2 separate regions of the Homo sapiens genome follow, and region 1 is linked to region 2. Evidence: promoter capture Hi-C in 16 types of primary human blood cells and fetal thymus (Javierre and others, 2016). All regions are on one chromosome and are shown on one strand. Each heading gives the region's core, a stretch centred on a gene start or on the middle of the fragment in contact. The rest is flanking DNA. Distances are from core to core; before and after follow the strand shown.

What was found. Contacts are between HindIII fragments. The CHiCAGO score rates a contact against its expected background, and 5 or more counts as called.
Region 1: a fragment that was not itself captured here is called in contact with the fragment with the promoter of SNTA1 in region 2 in 1 of 17 cell types (total B cells); the score reaches 5.1 in total B cells.

The regions. Positions count from the first base shown.
Region 1 is chr20:33,604,517-33,608,450 of GRCh38, reverse strand. CBFA2T2 (CBFA2/RUNX1 partner transcriptional co-repressor 2) reads right to left here. Exons shown (of 11, transcript NM_001032999.3): 2 at 1,352-1,495. Among named protein-coding and RNA genes, the nearest start is that of C20orf144, 56 kb to the left of the region's middle. RefSeq lists a silencer at 1,793-1,842. The HindIII fragment of the contact is 2,994 bases long and covers 78-3,071 here.
Region 2 is chr20:33,441,180-33,445,147 of GRCh38, reverse strand. SNTA1 (syntrophin alpha 1) reads left to right here and starts at 1,385. Exons shown (of 8, transcript NM_003098.3): 1 at 1,385-1,837. The coding sequence starts at 1,528. RefSeq lists enhancers at 380-439, 411-911, 890-959 and silencers at 1,190-1,669, 1,780-1,839. The HindIII fragment of the contact is 9,847 bases long and covers 1-3,968 here.

The DNA.
Region 1 (3,934 bases), core at 325-2,824, 160 kb before region 2:
TTACATTCTCTTCTCTTGCCTTTTAAAATAATAAACACAAAAAACAAAAAATTTTGAGCAAGGACAGTGTGCAAGCTTGTGTAATGGCATTTAAATGAAACAATACATACAGCATCTAGCTCAGTGCTCTGACACTTTTTGGGCATTCCAAAAATAGCAGTACATTTTGGTTTACAGGCAAAAGATCTGCAGAGTGTCAAAGTGAACTGGGGACGGCAGCATGTGCATGGAAAGGTAGAACTCAAATGAAGATCAAGACACTTGTGTGCATGTATGTATACTAGTTTATTTGGGGTTCTTTTGGTGATTATAGATATATAGGACTGAAATTGTTGAGTTACAGGGCACGTGGAAATTCAGCATTAGTGCAAACTGCCAATTTCCAAAAGATGTACTAAATTACACTCCAACCAGCATTGTATGAGTGTTCAAGTTGCTCCATACATCCTCACCAAAACTTGGTATCATTTTGAACATCCTGGTGGGTGTATAATGGTACTGTATTGGGTGTTAGTTTGCATTTCCTTGATGGTTAGTGAAGTTGAATATATTGTTACATATATTATTAGCTAACATAATGGTTATGGACTGAATTCTGCCCGAGCCTTGGCCAAATTCATACATTGAAGTCTTACCCCTTGTACCTCAGAATAGGACTATATTTGGAGATACTTTGAAGAGTTCATTAAGGTTAAAAGAGGTATTATGAGTAGTCCCTAATCCAATATGATTATTATCCTTAAAGGCAGGGGAAGAGACACCAGGGACGCAAAATGGAGGAAAGACCATGTGAGGATATGGCAAGAAGGCAACCATCTACAAGGCCCAGGTAAAACCAAACCTGCCAATACCTTGATCTTTACATTCTTGCCTCCAGAACTGTGAAAAAGTGAATAAAAATAAATTGTTTAAACCATCCAGTCTGTGGTATTTCATTATGGCAGCCCTAGTAAACAAATACAACAATATTCTCTTTTGTAAAAAGTCTTACCATGACAGCACTGGAACATTTTTAGAATTCTATAATTTTAGAAAACTTACTTGGAATCCCATAAGGCAATATAATAATTTAAATTCATTATTGTTAGAGTCAAAGAAATAAAAATAGTTACCAGCCAAAGAATATGAAAACAAAATATTTAAACAACTAAATATCCAAATAAGCTAAGTATTATTCTCAGAGGGTAAAAGTAATTTATAAAAGAAACAACCAGAAATATATATCTGTGTCTATATTTTCAATAGTACTTTGAAAACACTGAATAATATATGTGGAACGCTTCATACAAGTCAGTCACTTAGATCCAAATGTCACTCTGAACTACAAACATAAGTAACTAAGAGGTCTCACATGCAGTAGGAGTGAAGGACACTGGCCTCGGTCCTCCAGGATTTATTGGTGGGAGGGGTGGCATGGTGGGAGGTGAGGATCTGGACTGTATCTTCACTTCCACAGGCGATCCAGGCATCGCTGGCACCCTTTTCTCAGGACCAACTGCAGAGAATCAGAGAAATGGAGGTTAGGGTTTTCTAAAAGTTTGCAAAAACAGACAACAATTTGAAATACCAACATACTTCCCTAGAGGACTGCTTGGTATAATAGGCTGAATAGTGACCCCCTAAAAGATATGTCCACATCCCAACATCTGGAACTGTGAATGTTACCTGATTTGGCAAAAGGGTCTTTGAAGATATCATTAAGTTAAAAATCTTGAGAGGATGAGATCATCCTAGATTGTCTGGGTGGGCTCTAAATCCAATCTGAATGGTGTCCTTAAAGAAGGGATGAGACACAGACACAGAGACATACACAGAGGGAAGCCAAAGAGAGGACAGTCACACCAAGTGGCGACAGAGGCAGGGACTAGAGTGACACATCTATACACCGAGGAATGCCAAGGAGTGCCAGCAACCAGCAAGCCAGGAGGGAGAAGGGGACACATTTGTCCTCTGAAACCCCGGGAAGGAATCAACCTTGCTGATACCTCAATTTTGGGCCTCTGGCTTTCTGAACTGTGAGAGAATGAATTTCTATTGTCTTAAGCCACTCAGTTAGTGGTACTTTGTTACTTCAACCCTAGGAACTAAAATGAGGAAACAAGGTCAAGAGGTGATGTGAACTGAAAGTTAGCAGTCTTTAGATAGTGGCTGAGAAAGGAAGAAACCAGGTTACAAATATAGCTTACCTCAAATGCATTTTCTTTAACTTCTCCTTATAAATGAATCAAATTATTAGGGGTGAAAAAGCTAACATGGGAACTATCTAGACTTAGGCCTCAACTGCAAGACATGAAAAGAAAATCAATCAGTTATATATAAATCAATATTAATAGGCTGGGCACGGTGGCTCATGCCTGTAAACCTAGCACTTTGGGAGGCTGAGGCGGGTGGATCACCTAAGGTCAGGAGTTTGAGATCAGCCTGGCCAACATGGTGAAACCCTGTCTCTACTAAAAATATAAAAATTAGCTGGGTGTGGTGGTGGGCACCTGTAGTCCCAGTTACTCAGGAGGCTGAGGCAAGAGAATCGCTTGAACCTGGGAGGCGGAGGTTGCAGTGAGCCAAGATCATGCCACTGCACTCTAGCCTGGGTGACAGAGCGACTCTGTCTTAAAAAAAAAAAAATCACCATTAATAATGATGTACTAAATTATATATATACATATCAACTACATCAAGTAGGAAAAAAGAGGGAGTCAACCTCTCTGACCTCAAACATGTAAATGTCATTCATGCTATACATTGTTCAAAAAGATGAAAAGTAGAGCTGAGTCTACATGAAGCAGAGGCTACTTCATCTATGGGAACAATTAATAATAGGCAGTTGTTTGATAATACTAAATGGCAACAAAATTCCAGAAAGATAAATTAGATAAACTTCATGATGCTGCAATTAGGTAGGTCTGAGCTAACAGGAATCAGACTTGATACCAATGAGTAATATTCTAATATATCTAACAAGTTATTTTTCCCTATCAAAGAGAACTTGTTACATACTTAGTTAATAATACGACCAGGGTTACCATAATCACCTTTAAATTGAGCTATGTTCCTCACAGTAATTCTAAGCTTTTCACTTAAGTACCAGCCATTCATTCTCCAATAACTGCTGAATTCAAATTAAAGTGTAAAAAATGGGGAGCAAAGGCTCAAATAAGAAGGTAAAGTCCAAGTTTTCCTTCTGTGAGAGCACAGCTATAAAGACAATACATACAAGAGTGTTCACGATCCTGGCAACAAGGAACATTTTTGTGCATTGATGGGACACAATGGTATTTGTAGAAAAGTATCTCCAAATACCATTTTTATGCTTCAGTTTGCAGTGGCCACACTTGGGAAAGGGATATAATAAAGTCAATCAAGAAAGCAATGCCCCCAAGTTACAAATCCCCTGACAAAAATGTGCAGTTCTCAGAACCATGTGGGCAACACTCTGCCAGCCCTTCCCATTTCTCTGTTCAGGACATTTTCTTTGTGAAATTGATGGTCGTCCTGTCTGATTAGTGGACTAATGAGCTGTTGCGCTTGCCTTTTCTTCCTGACAGTATTTTCTCAATGCCCTTCAGAGAACAGTTGACACATTTCCAGCTCTTCCATCTGGGGCCCAGCTTTCTGGAAGGGTAGGGGAGAAGGAAAGGAAGGAACTGACAGTTGTCTCGCACTGTAATGTGTTGTGTACAGTGTGCAACAACCTAGAGGGAGCTTTTCTTCAGACCACCTGGCTCTATAGCAAGGGTGCCAAAGACTTGAGGAAGGCTTAGCAGTGAGATGAGTTTTAACAGTCAGCACTTGGCAGAATAAAAAAGTTAGAGCAGCCCAAATGCAGAACGCTGAACTCTGTGCTCTTACCAACCAAAAGCTTTGATAGTGGGCCAAACCCAGCCACTAGAGAACTGTTTACAGATTGATACTTTTCATTTCACCACCCAAAACC
Region 2 (3,968 bases), core at 136-2,635:
TGGAGTGTGATGGTGCAATCACAGCTCACTGCAGCCTGGACCTCCAAGGCTCAAGCGATCCTGCCACCTCAGCTGTGATTACAGGTGTGAGCCACTGTGCCCAGCTGGGGGTGCTCTTAGCTACTCCAGGAGGCTAATGTAAAGATAACACTTGGAAAATATTCTGCCAGCCCTAGGTAAGAGTAAGCATTCACTAAATGAAAGTGATTATTTCTATAGAATAGGGAGTCACAGTTTACCACGTGTTTTCACATTGATTTAATCCTCACACCAGCCCAGTGAAGTAGGTATTATTATGATCCACATTTTACAGATGAGGAAATTGAGGCCTAGAGCAGTGACGTGAGGGGACCAAAGTCGACTTGGAGCTAACAGAGGCAGCAAAGATTAGAAACCATGTCTCCAGTCGCCCAGACCCAGAGCCCCACCTTGCAACCCTCTTCCCACACACCAGTTCTGTTTTTTTTCTGCCAGGCCTCAAAGTGTGGGACTTCAGGCTTTTCTATACTCGACTGTGAACACAGCCAGGGGTTAATCTCTTAAACTTCCCTCCAGTTTTGAAGTGGGGATCCTGCCCACACCTCCCCCAAGCCCTAAGCGGTGTCGGTAGCGGTCTCCTCCAGGGGGCGGGGCCTGTCATCTTTAGAAGCCACGCCAGCGATAAGCCACGCCCACAGACCAAAGCCTCGACCCCCACCCCCCATCCCCCGCCCTCCCCGATAGGAAACCAACTTCTTCCTCAGCTCCCCAACTAGCAACTGTGCCCGCAAGGTCTCTCGCGGCTCAGCATCTACCTTTTTTTTTTTTTTTTTTTTTTGACACAGGGTTTCGCTCTGTCACCCAGGCTGGAGTGCAGTGGCGCGATCGCGGCTTACTGCAGCCTCGAGCTTCTGGGCTGTCATCTAGGCCTCCCAAAGTGTTGGGATTACAGGCGTGAGCCTCCACGCCCAGACGGTGTCTACCTCTTAAACTCAAGCCTTGGAGTCCAACGCTCTACCATACGCAGCCCAGCCCTCCGCCATATGCAGCCCAGCCCGATGCCCAGTGCTTCGCACCAGGATACGTGGTTCTGTCTCTTTTTCATGCGCTCCCACGTCCGGGAGTTACAGTCCCGGCCCTCGATGGGCATTCCGAGCGCCGAGCCCCCTGCGCGGGCTCACTGGGTTCCGCCCCCGACGCGAAGCCCCGCCCCCTGACGCCCCGCCCAGCACCACGCCTCCCGGGCTTTCGCCTTACTTAGTGGCCCGCCCCGCCGCCCTTCTGACCCACCCCGCTAGGTAGTCCCACACGGCGGCCCTCGGCTCCCGGGCCCCGCCCCGGCCTCCTGCATTTGCCCGAGGCCCCCTCCCCAGCACTGGCCACACCCCAGGGTAGCCCCGCCCCCAGAGCTCCTCCCCCAGCGGCCGGGGTAGGGTGGCGGCTGGCCCAGCCGGGCCCCCGCTGCCCTCTGCCCTGGGCGCTTGGTCGGAGCGGGCTGGGCAAAGCGGGACAGGGCGAGCGCGGCGGCCCGGGGGCTCGGAGGCGAAGATGGCGTCCGGCAGGCGCGCCCCGCGCACCGGGCTGCTGGAGCTGCGCGCCGGGGCGGGCTCGGGGGCCGGCGGCGAGCGATGGCAGCGGGTGCTGCTGAGTCTGGCGGAGGACGTGCTGACCGTGAGCCCCGCCGACGGCGACCCTGGTCCCGAGCCCGGCGCTCCGCGGGAGCAGGAGCCCGCGCAGCTCAACGGCGCCGCGGAGCCGGGCGCCGGGCCCCCGCAGCTGCCAGAGGCGCTACTGCTCCAGCGGCGCCGCGTGACGGTGCGCAAGGCCGACGCCGGTGGGCTGGGCATCAGCATCAAAGGTGGGCGCGGGACACCGAGGGCGCGGGGTCGTGGTGTCTGGGGGCAGCCGAGGGCGCAGGGGGCTGGCAGCGCGCCCAGGACATGGAGCTGGAGGCTTCCTGTCTGGGGGTAAGGGGGGTCTGAGGAAACAGGTAACGGAGGGCACTGGGCACACCAAGGTTGGAGGGGGTTTCAGTAGTTGGTGGCCTTAGGGGGCACGGAAGACACAGGTGTGGATAAGATTGTGGGAGCACCAAGGACACGTGGGTGGGAGTTCTGTGTGGAGGCGGGGGGGTCTGAGGGGTAACCAGCATGAACATCAAGGACAAGAGGGGTCCCCCGGAAAGCAGAGTGTGGAGAAAGGGGGTTGAGGCCGGGACACCAGTGGGACAGGGAGGAGGGAGTCCCTGAGAAGCAACCAAGGTGGGTGCAGAGGGGAAGCCTGGAGTCTGGGAAGCACAGGGGTGGATAGGAGGCCTGGGTGCAGGCACAGGCTGGGGTCACAGGCAGAAGGCCAGCAAGGACCTAGGAATCTAAGGACCCAGGAAGGCTGCAGGGAGCCCTGACAGCTGGATTTGGGTCTCCTGATCTGACTATCTCCACCTTGCACAGGATAGAGCTTTCAGCCCCCAGGACTGACCGCTAGTGGGGTGCAGTTAGGGTGCAACCAGACTGTGTTTGAATCCAGGATCAGCTGTGTGAGGTTGCAAAAGTCCCGTCCCGCCTCTGAATCTGTTTCCTCAACTGTATAAGAGGATGACAGAGTTGTGATGTTTCTGAGAGCAGGGCTCACCACACCAGCACACTGTAGGTGCCTAGTTAATTACTGCTGTTAGCGGAGAGGAAAAATGGAGGCCAGCAGATACTCCCAAAGCAACTAAACATAGTTGTTAAAATCCTTGCACACCCCCAGCTGCTGGGTTCACTATTCCTGCCCATCTGTTTCTCAGGGTCCCAGCCCCCAGCAGGTGCTTTGGGAAAGGGTATCAGCCTTTGTCTCCACCTTGAATACATACCGTACCCTCTGGGGTCTCCCTGGTACTGGTTCTGTTGACTAGTGCCTCCAGACCGTTTGGCTTGGCTGAGGCGGTGGGGATGGTGGTGAATGCCACCACTGTGTGCCAGGTGCTGTGCCCAGGACACTAGTCTCATGATCCACTTCATCCTGGCAACAAGTGGTGAAAGGTAGGGAGTATAATTCCCATATTGCAGGTGAAGAAACTGAGACTCAGAAAGTTAAAATGATTTTCCCACGATTACATAGTGAGTGTCAGTGCTGGGATTTGAACCTTAATTATCAGCTACTGTCCCTCAGAGAGTGCTCAGGGAAGTTGATTCTTTCCTGTAGAAGGGCAGATCCCCAGGCAGCCAACCAAGAGGGGCTAAAAAGGAGAAATGAGAAAATGAGGGTATGGGCACCAGTCTTACCCCCAATCTCCAGCATGGGATAGGGCAACAGATGAATCCAAAAATTATACACTCAGTGTGTCAAAGCAGGAAGGAACTTATTCATACAGAATTCCATTCTGCAGATGGACACACTGAGACTCAGAGAGGAGCAGGGACTTTGCAAGGTCACACAAAGTTACTCCCCAGCTCCATAATTCTAGGTGGAGGGGAGGGTACTTTTAGGAGACTTCAGGTATTTCCATTGGATCCAAATCTGGGCTCCTGTTGCCATGGTAACCCCTCCTATAAAGTCTAGCTTAGTCTGAGGCAGCCATGAGTGATCATAGCTTCAAACTGAACTGAAGCCCCTAGTTTCAGGTGGGGGAGGGCAGATATAAATAGAAACCCCTTCCTCTCCTAGACTTCAAGCTCTGTGCAGATAAGCAAACGGTCGGGCCTGTGTGGGCGTCAAGAGAGGTGTTCCAGTCCCAGCTCCGCCACCAGACTTGTGTGACCTTGGAACAATGACCTCCCACTCTGGGCCACTAATTCTTCATCTTCAGTATTCTGGGGATGAGCCAGGAGTGTGATATCTGAGGGCCTGACTTGTCGTCTGTGGTAGGGCTAATAGTGTTGGTTCTGGAGCCTGGAGGCCTAGGTGCAAATACTGGCTTCGCTACTTACTAGTGGAGTGACCTTGGACAAGGGGCTTCCCTCCACACTTCAGTTTCCCTAATAGGAAACTGAACATACCTATGTGAT